Regions from separate parts of the Homo sapiens genome. Here region 1 is linked to region 2. Evidence: promoter capture Hi-C in human tissues and cell types (Jung and others, 2019). All regions are on one chromosome and are shown on one strand. Each heading gives the region's core, a stretch centred on a gene start or on the middle of the fragment in contact. The rest is flanking DNA. Distances are from core to core; before and after follow the strand shown.

Evidence for each region. Contacts are between HindIII fragments. The study calls those that stand out against the background at their distance.
Region 1: a fragment that was not itself captured here is called in contact with the fragment with the promoter of RGS16 in region 2 in 1 of the 25 tissues and cell types used here (heart right ventricle).

The regions. Positions count from the first base shown.
Region 1 is chr1:181,151,293-181,154,538 of GRCh38, reverse strand. No RefSeq gene overlaps it. Among named protein-coding and RNA genes, the nearest start is that of LINC01732, 22 kb to the left of the region's middle. RefSeq lists a silencer at 1,250-1,534 and enhancers at 1,374-1,583, 21-2,626. The HindIII fragment of the contact is 8,194 bases long and covers 1-3,246 here.
Region 2 is chr1:182,602,845-182,606,129 of GRCh38, reverse strand. RGS16 (regulator of G protein signaling 16) reads left to right here and starts at 1,741. Exons shown (of 5, transcript NM_002928.4): 1 at 1,741-1,914; 2 at 2,791-2,901. The coding sequence starts at 1,871. RefSeq lists enhancers at 1,427-1,506, 1,977-2,026, 2,117-2,176. The HindIII fragment of the contact is 25,162 bases long and covers 1-3,285 here.

The DNA of each region.
Region 1 (3,246 bases), core at 713-3,212, 1.5 Mb after region 2:
CCAATATGAAGGTGAACCAGAACCTTCTCAGGGCCCAGAAGTTGCTTTGAAAAAATTCTCTCAACACTTGAAAAACTCATTTAAATATCAATGGAAACACACACCTACCTGCCTAGATGGGTTTCTTAACAACCAAGGTCAAAAGTTTCCCTATTGGATCTTGAATCTAAGAGGAAAAAAAGAAACCACCAACTCTTTCTCATTCAAATGTTCATAAATAATAATATTATTAACAATAATTATAATAGCTACCATAAGGCTGGGCACGGTGGCTCACACCTGTAATCCTAGCATGCCTGTAATCCTAGCATTTTGGGAGGCCGAGGCAGGTAGATCACCTGAGGTCAGGAGTTCGAGGCCAGCCTGGCCAACATGGTGAAATCCCGTCTCTACTAAAACTACAAAAATCAGCTGGGGGTGGTAGTCGGTGCCTGTAATCCCATCTACTTGAGAGGTAGAGGCAGGAGAATTGCTTGAACCCAGGAGGCAGAGGTTGCAGTGAGCCGAGATTGTGCCACTGTACTCCAGCCCGGGCAACAGAGTGAGACTCCATCTCAAAAACAAAACAAAACAAAACAAAAAAATAGCTACCATAATGCCATCTGATGTATGTTTTCAGTGCTTTACATATGTCATCTTATTTACATTTTACAACAGTTCTAAGATGGAAATATCACTCTACATTTTAAAGATGAGAAAACCAGGCTTCGAAGGGGTTACATAACTTACTTAGGATCACACTTCTTTCTAAGTGGAGAAGCTAGGATGTCACACCAGCTCCGATTTAAAACCTGTGTATTTTTTCAGGATAATACCTTGCCTCTTTTGCACACTCCTCTGCCCTGACTTACAGCAATAAGATGGTTCTGCCTCTCATGACAAAACTTATTTTCTAGGCAGAGCAAGTACGTCTGCTGTGGTCCACTCTCAATTAGGTAGAAGTCCAGCCTGGAATTGTGGCACTGCAATGCAGCAGGCCACCTGGCCACAGAAGGCCTTTGCCTGTAGAAGCCATATGGATGAAGAAGACTCTGAGCCAAGCACTAATGCAGAGAGGGGATGGAACAGGGGTGGGGGCTGGGGAAGGAGGGAGCTGGCACAGCTGCTTCCGAAGGGGACGTTACGATGGGCCATCAGTATTGACCACTAAGCCTGAATGTGCTGGACACACCAGTCACCCATGCCAAGCCCATTAAGTTCATCTCAGCTGTCTGGCAACTGCCCTCTAATGAAACAAGCCAACAACTTCCTATATTTGAGGTTTCAGTTAGTGTTGTTGGCCAAGTTTCAGTGGGAACCAGAGAAGACGACCACACGGGGGCTGTAGGCCCTGAGAGCAGCAGCCCAAGCCGACCTCAGAGCGCCTGCCAGCTGGGCAGATTATCAGCGTCCTGCTGCAGAGAGATAAGGAACGTTCTGATCCAGCCCCGAGAAGTGCAGGGCTTTATATAGCAGCTTGAGTAGGCTGCAAGGGAATGTCCTGGCCGAAGGCTTCTCCGTAGCCAAGAGAGAGGGGAGTGGGTGGAGAGGAAGGCGGGAGCTTTATAAATAACCCGATGTGTGCTGATCTGCTCAGCGGCCTTGTCTTAGCAAAGCCTGAGGCCTGGGGGAGGAGAGGGACATTTACAGATGACTTTTATTTTCTTTATCACTTCTCTATATTTTCTAAGTTTTCTACGATGAACTTGAACTCCTTTTATAATCAGCAAGTATGAATACAATTTTAAGAAAGCAAAAAAGAGAGGCATAAAAAGAATTCCTTTGGTTGGAGATTTTAGTGACCATCTTTACCCACTCAGAGGTTCCCAAACAAGCCCCAGTGCTCTCCTCCCTTCTCTGGTCTCTCCCATTGGGCCCCCTGGGGTGCCTGTACTCACCTATGATGCAGGATCTGACCAGTTTTCTTAGCTCCTCCCGGGTTCCCGCATTCCCCATACTCTCCCCCTGCTCCCACTAATCCAAATGTGGCTGTCCTTGGCCTTATTGTTTTTAAAAAAGGTGTCCAGGTCCCTCATCTCTGCTAGGGTACATAAGGGTTACTTGGGTATGTCCCCTGTGCCTGCTACACTAGCTTAATAATGGGTAAAAAGCCATGGAGTCCCTGTACAGAGTGTGGTTTATACTCTCTGTGCCTCAGGGTCCCTTTTCTATAAAATGGTGATAACAAGACCACCTACTTCATAGAGGTCACATTAAGATTAAAATAAGACAGTGGATGTAAACTGGCTGACACATTGGAAATGGCCAATTAAATATTAACTAATTATCACTCCACTGAGCATCCCTCCTCACACTCAGGCCCTGAATGACCACACCTACCAAATGTGACCAGACAGATTTTCACTGTTTCCAAAAATAACTCCTCCCAGGAGGTGTGAAGATTCACCACTGCAACTCTGGCACTGATTCAAAGCAGGAGTTCCAAAAATGTTTTGCGAGGTGACAGGCTCCCAGAATCACAGTCAGCCTTCACAGTGCCCCTTATACGGCTGCAATCCTCATTTGGATGTGTGAGTCATGGTAGGGCTACCACATAAACAGATAAATGAATAAACATGTTGTGACTTTGTAGTAACGACCTCATGTAAGCTAAGTTCAGCTCATGACTCTGGGGCAATTTTTAGGACACAAAAGTAGATAAAATATCAACCGATCCCTATTTTTTGAGCAAGCGCTATGTGCAAAAAGGCACGGCGCTAAAATGCAAAAATGGAACATTTTAAAAAGATGAAAGCTTCTGCTTGGAAAGAGATTACACCCTAATCGAGGAAGTAAAATGCAGATACAGGAATAGAAAGCACACTCAGCAAAGCAAGATATGATCCATGGAGGTGATAAGGTGGAGAGTTCAGAAGAGCACGCCCGCTGGGTTCTGGAGGTCAAAGCAGCCTCGTGGAGGAAATTAATACCCTTGATAAGTGGATGCCAGGCCTTGTAGAATTCTGATGCAATCAGGATAGAGTCTGAGAGAAAGGGTCTCACATGTCAATGTCAACAAAGCATGGTGCTAGGTACTCATATAAGTACATCATCTTTTTTTGATCTTGACAAGAATCTAGTGTGATGTTACCATTCCCATTTCACAGATAAGAAGACAGTGGCTCAGAGAAGCTCAGAGAGGTTAAGTTATATGCCCAAGGTCATTCACAGCAGAGGCAGGATTCAAACCAGGTTCTACCCGGCTCCACAGTCCATATTCTGGCTTCTACCATCTGGCACTGCTATGGCCTCCCTTAAATCTGGCTC
Region 2 (3,285 bases), core at 492-2,991:
GTATACACTGCCTATACTGTATTCCAAGAGGCACAAAAGACTCACTAATTTTCCTTATTGCTAGCAATCCCAGTATCCCTATTAAGTAAAACTGAAAGCTATTATAACATTTATTGACTGCTGACTACATGTTGAGCACTGTCATATAAGCACCTTATATGTTGTCACGGATGCTGTGCGGTGCCACCCAGATCCCGTCTTGGGGACTGTGATCATCATTTCCCAGGGTGTTAGTCTCTCTCCAGGAATTGCTCTTGACAAAGGGCACTGCCTTAAGATTAGGCTGTCTTCTTGGGCAGCTGTATGCAATGAATGGTCTTTATGGGGTTACCAGGGCCTTGTCCTCTTGCTTCAGTGGACAGTTCCAAAGGGCCAGCTGAGCTTCCGGGCATTCCTTGGAACCAGCTGGGGTCTCTGTTGAAATGGCATGGCCTTCAACTCCTCCCTCTGCCCAGACCTGCTTTCTTTACTCCCTCTTAATTCTGATAACTCTCCCCAGTAAACCTCCTGCATGCAAGTGTCTACCCGAGTCTAGTTCCTAGGAACTCAAACTAAGAATTAATTTATTTAGTTCTCACAACCACCTTATGAAATAAGTTGTTCTCTTCGTAGAGACAAGGAAATGGAGGCATAGAAAGGTTAAGCAGTTTGCCTCGTCTCCCATCAGTAGCCAGTTAACAGTGAACGTGGCCTTCCTGCAGCTGGGTCTTCAGCAGGTCACCTGGCAGAGCCATGACTTGAAACCTGAAAATCTAACTCTAGACCCTGTACTTTTAACCTCACATACAGCCTCTTAATAGCAATCCCAATGCCTTTATGGGAAGATGAGGTGAGAGGAAGGGCATTTATTACCTTTATGTCAGAGATGGAGACAATAAGGTATTAACTGCTTAAACCCAGGATCGTCCACAGGTATAGCCGTGACCGGGTACTAACCTTTGTGTGTGTGTGTGGTGTGTGTGTGTGTGTGTGTGTGTGTGTGTGCAATGGAAAAAGAATGGCAAATTCACATTTGAATTTTGGAGCCAACACTTACTAGCTGCACATCTTTGAGCAAGTTATTTAATAACTAAGACTTTGAGCAAGTCTTACTTATGTGCCTAGCACATAGTAGGTGTTCAATAAACTACTCATCCCTATTCCACTTTTCTGTCATCTCCAACTGTGATCTTGGACAAGTTTATTTAGCTTTCTGATTCTCGATTTCTTCATCTATAAAATGGAGATGATGATGAAGAGCTTACTTAGCCCCGTGTCCATCATGGTAAGAGCCTCGTAAAGGGTACTTATCAGTATAATCAGATGCTGTTTTGCCCAGGTTTGCACCCTGTGCGCCTGTCCTCAGGACCCAGCAGGCTCAGACTTGCCTGCGATCAAAGAAAGCCCTGTGTGCCTCCCAGACCCACCACCCCCGTGCAAACTCTCTCAACACGACACCGCTGCGTGACTTTCCTGCTGTTACTAGAGGTCGGCAGGTACTTTTCCCTAGGAAACTGGGTGTGCACGTCTCATCCCCGTGCCAATTCTCTTGCCGCTTTTCCTTCCACACGCGGCGTCCTCTGGGCGGAGGGTGCAGCTCCGCGTGCTCCAGCTGCCGCGAAAGTTGCACCCGGCCCAGTCTGGCTGCGGGCCCCGCCTCCGCCTTCTCAGCGCCCAGCCCCACCCTCCGATTGGTCAGCAGTGCCCAGCCCCGCCCCGCTCCTCCGAGGGGATTTAAAGCAGCGGCCGCTCAGTCTGGGCGCTTGCAGGCTGCTAAACCCAACCGCAGTTGACTAGCACCTGCTACCGCGCCTTTGCTTCCTGGCGCACGCGGAGCCTCCTGGAGCCTGCCACCATCCTGCCTACTACGTGCTGCCCTGCGCCCGCAGCCATGTGCCGCACCCTGGCCGCCTTCCCCACCACCTGCCTGGAGAGGTAAGGGGAGGTTGTCCAACTGCTTGGGGGAAGTCCCACCAACTCTTAGGGAGTGGAGCGGCAGGCCTGGGGACCTGGGTGGGCGCGGGGATGGGGCGCTAGAGGCTTGAGTAGAGAGGTAGAAGCGCACTTGATGCCACGTGCTCAGATTCCAGGAGCAGGGAGAAAGCAAGGGGAAGGGAAGCAAGGGCCCGCGGCTTGCTGCCATCCCCATCCTCTGACAAACTGCAGTCGTGCTCAGGTGACCTGCTGAAGACCCGGCTGCGGGAAGGCCACGTTGACATTTCCAGGCAGCACTGAGCCTGCCCATTTCTTAAGCATTTGTTTTTCATTCCTCAGACCAGAGCTAGGGGCATTGCCTCCTCTGCCCCTGGAAGACAGGGAGATTTTTTTTTTTTTGGTGGGGTGTGTGGGGGTGGGGGCTCCCACTGTTGAGGGTGTGTCCATATTCCAGAGAGCTACTCAACAGCTTCCAATCCTTACTGGCTGGGAAGGAAAAAGTAAAGATGAAGGCAGGAATCAGTTTCCCACACAGTTCAGAAATACTTCTGAAAAGAATGCTGAGTTCTTTTCTGAATCAACAGGCACGAAGAGAGATCAGTGTGACTTTAGGGAAAAGCCCATATATGCAGCGTGTGTATTACCCAGAAAGTGTAAGACCTACCACAGCATAGCTCAAACATTGCTTTTGTTGCTTTGGGGTTGATGATGCTGATAAGAGAAGCACTCTTGGCCTGGGGACAGCCAAGAGTTTCCAGGAACTCTTGAGGCTAAAGTTTGGGTGGCACCACCCAGAGCTCTTCTGGGACCCATAAACCTCTCCACACTGGCTGAGCAAATGAGAGAATGCTTTCATGTTCCTGATTTGTTTTTCAGAGCCAAAGAGTTCAAGACACGTCTGGGGATCTTTCTTCACAAATCAGAGCTGGGCTGCGATACTGGGAGTACTGGCAAGTTCGAGTGGGGCAGTAAACACAGCAAAGAGAAGTAAGTGTTGCTGACCAGCTCAGGGCTCCGAGAGGGAAGGGAGTGGGAAGGGAGTCATGAGGAGGGAAATACAGGGAGAAGCCAGGACACGCTAAGTGGACCTTGGCAACACCTCCCTAGAGATTTTAGTGGGACTTGTTGCTGGTCTGTTATGACTACTTGGCTCATGGGTGAGTGGGTAGGTGGCTCCAGGGCTCCAAGTCCATCCACGGATGAGGGCACACAGGGCATGAATGCCTAGTTCCCAGACTCTCCCACCTCGGGATTCATTGCACGTGCATCCAGGGCTAGGACAGAATCCAAGACCACTTGAAGTTTTCTAGTATGCACCTTGCCTAGAAACTCTTTCATATTGGCTATCAACTGTACCAAACTCTGGAGTTA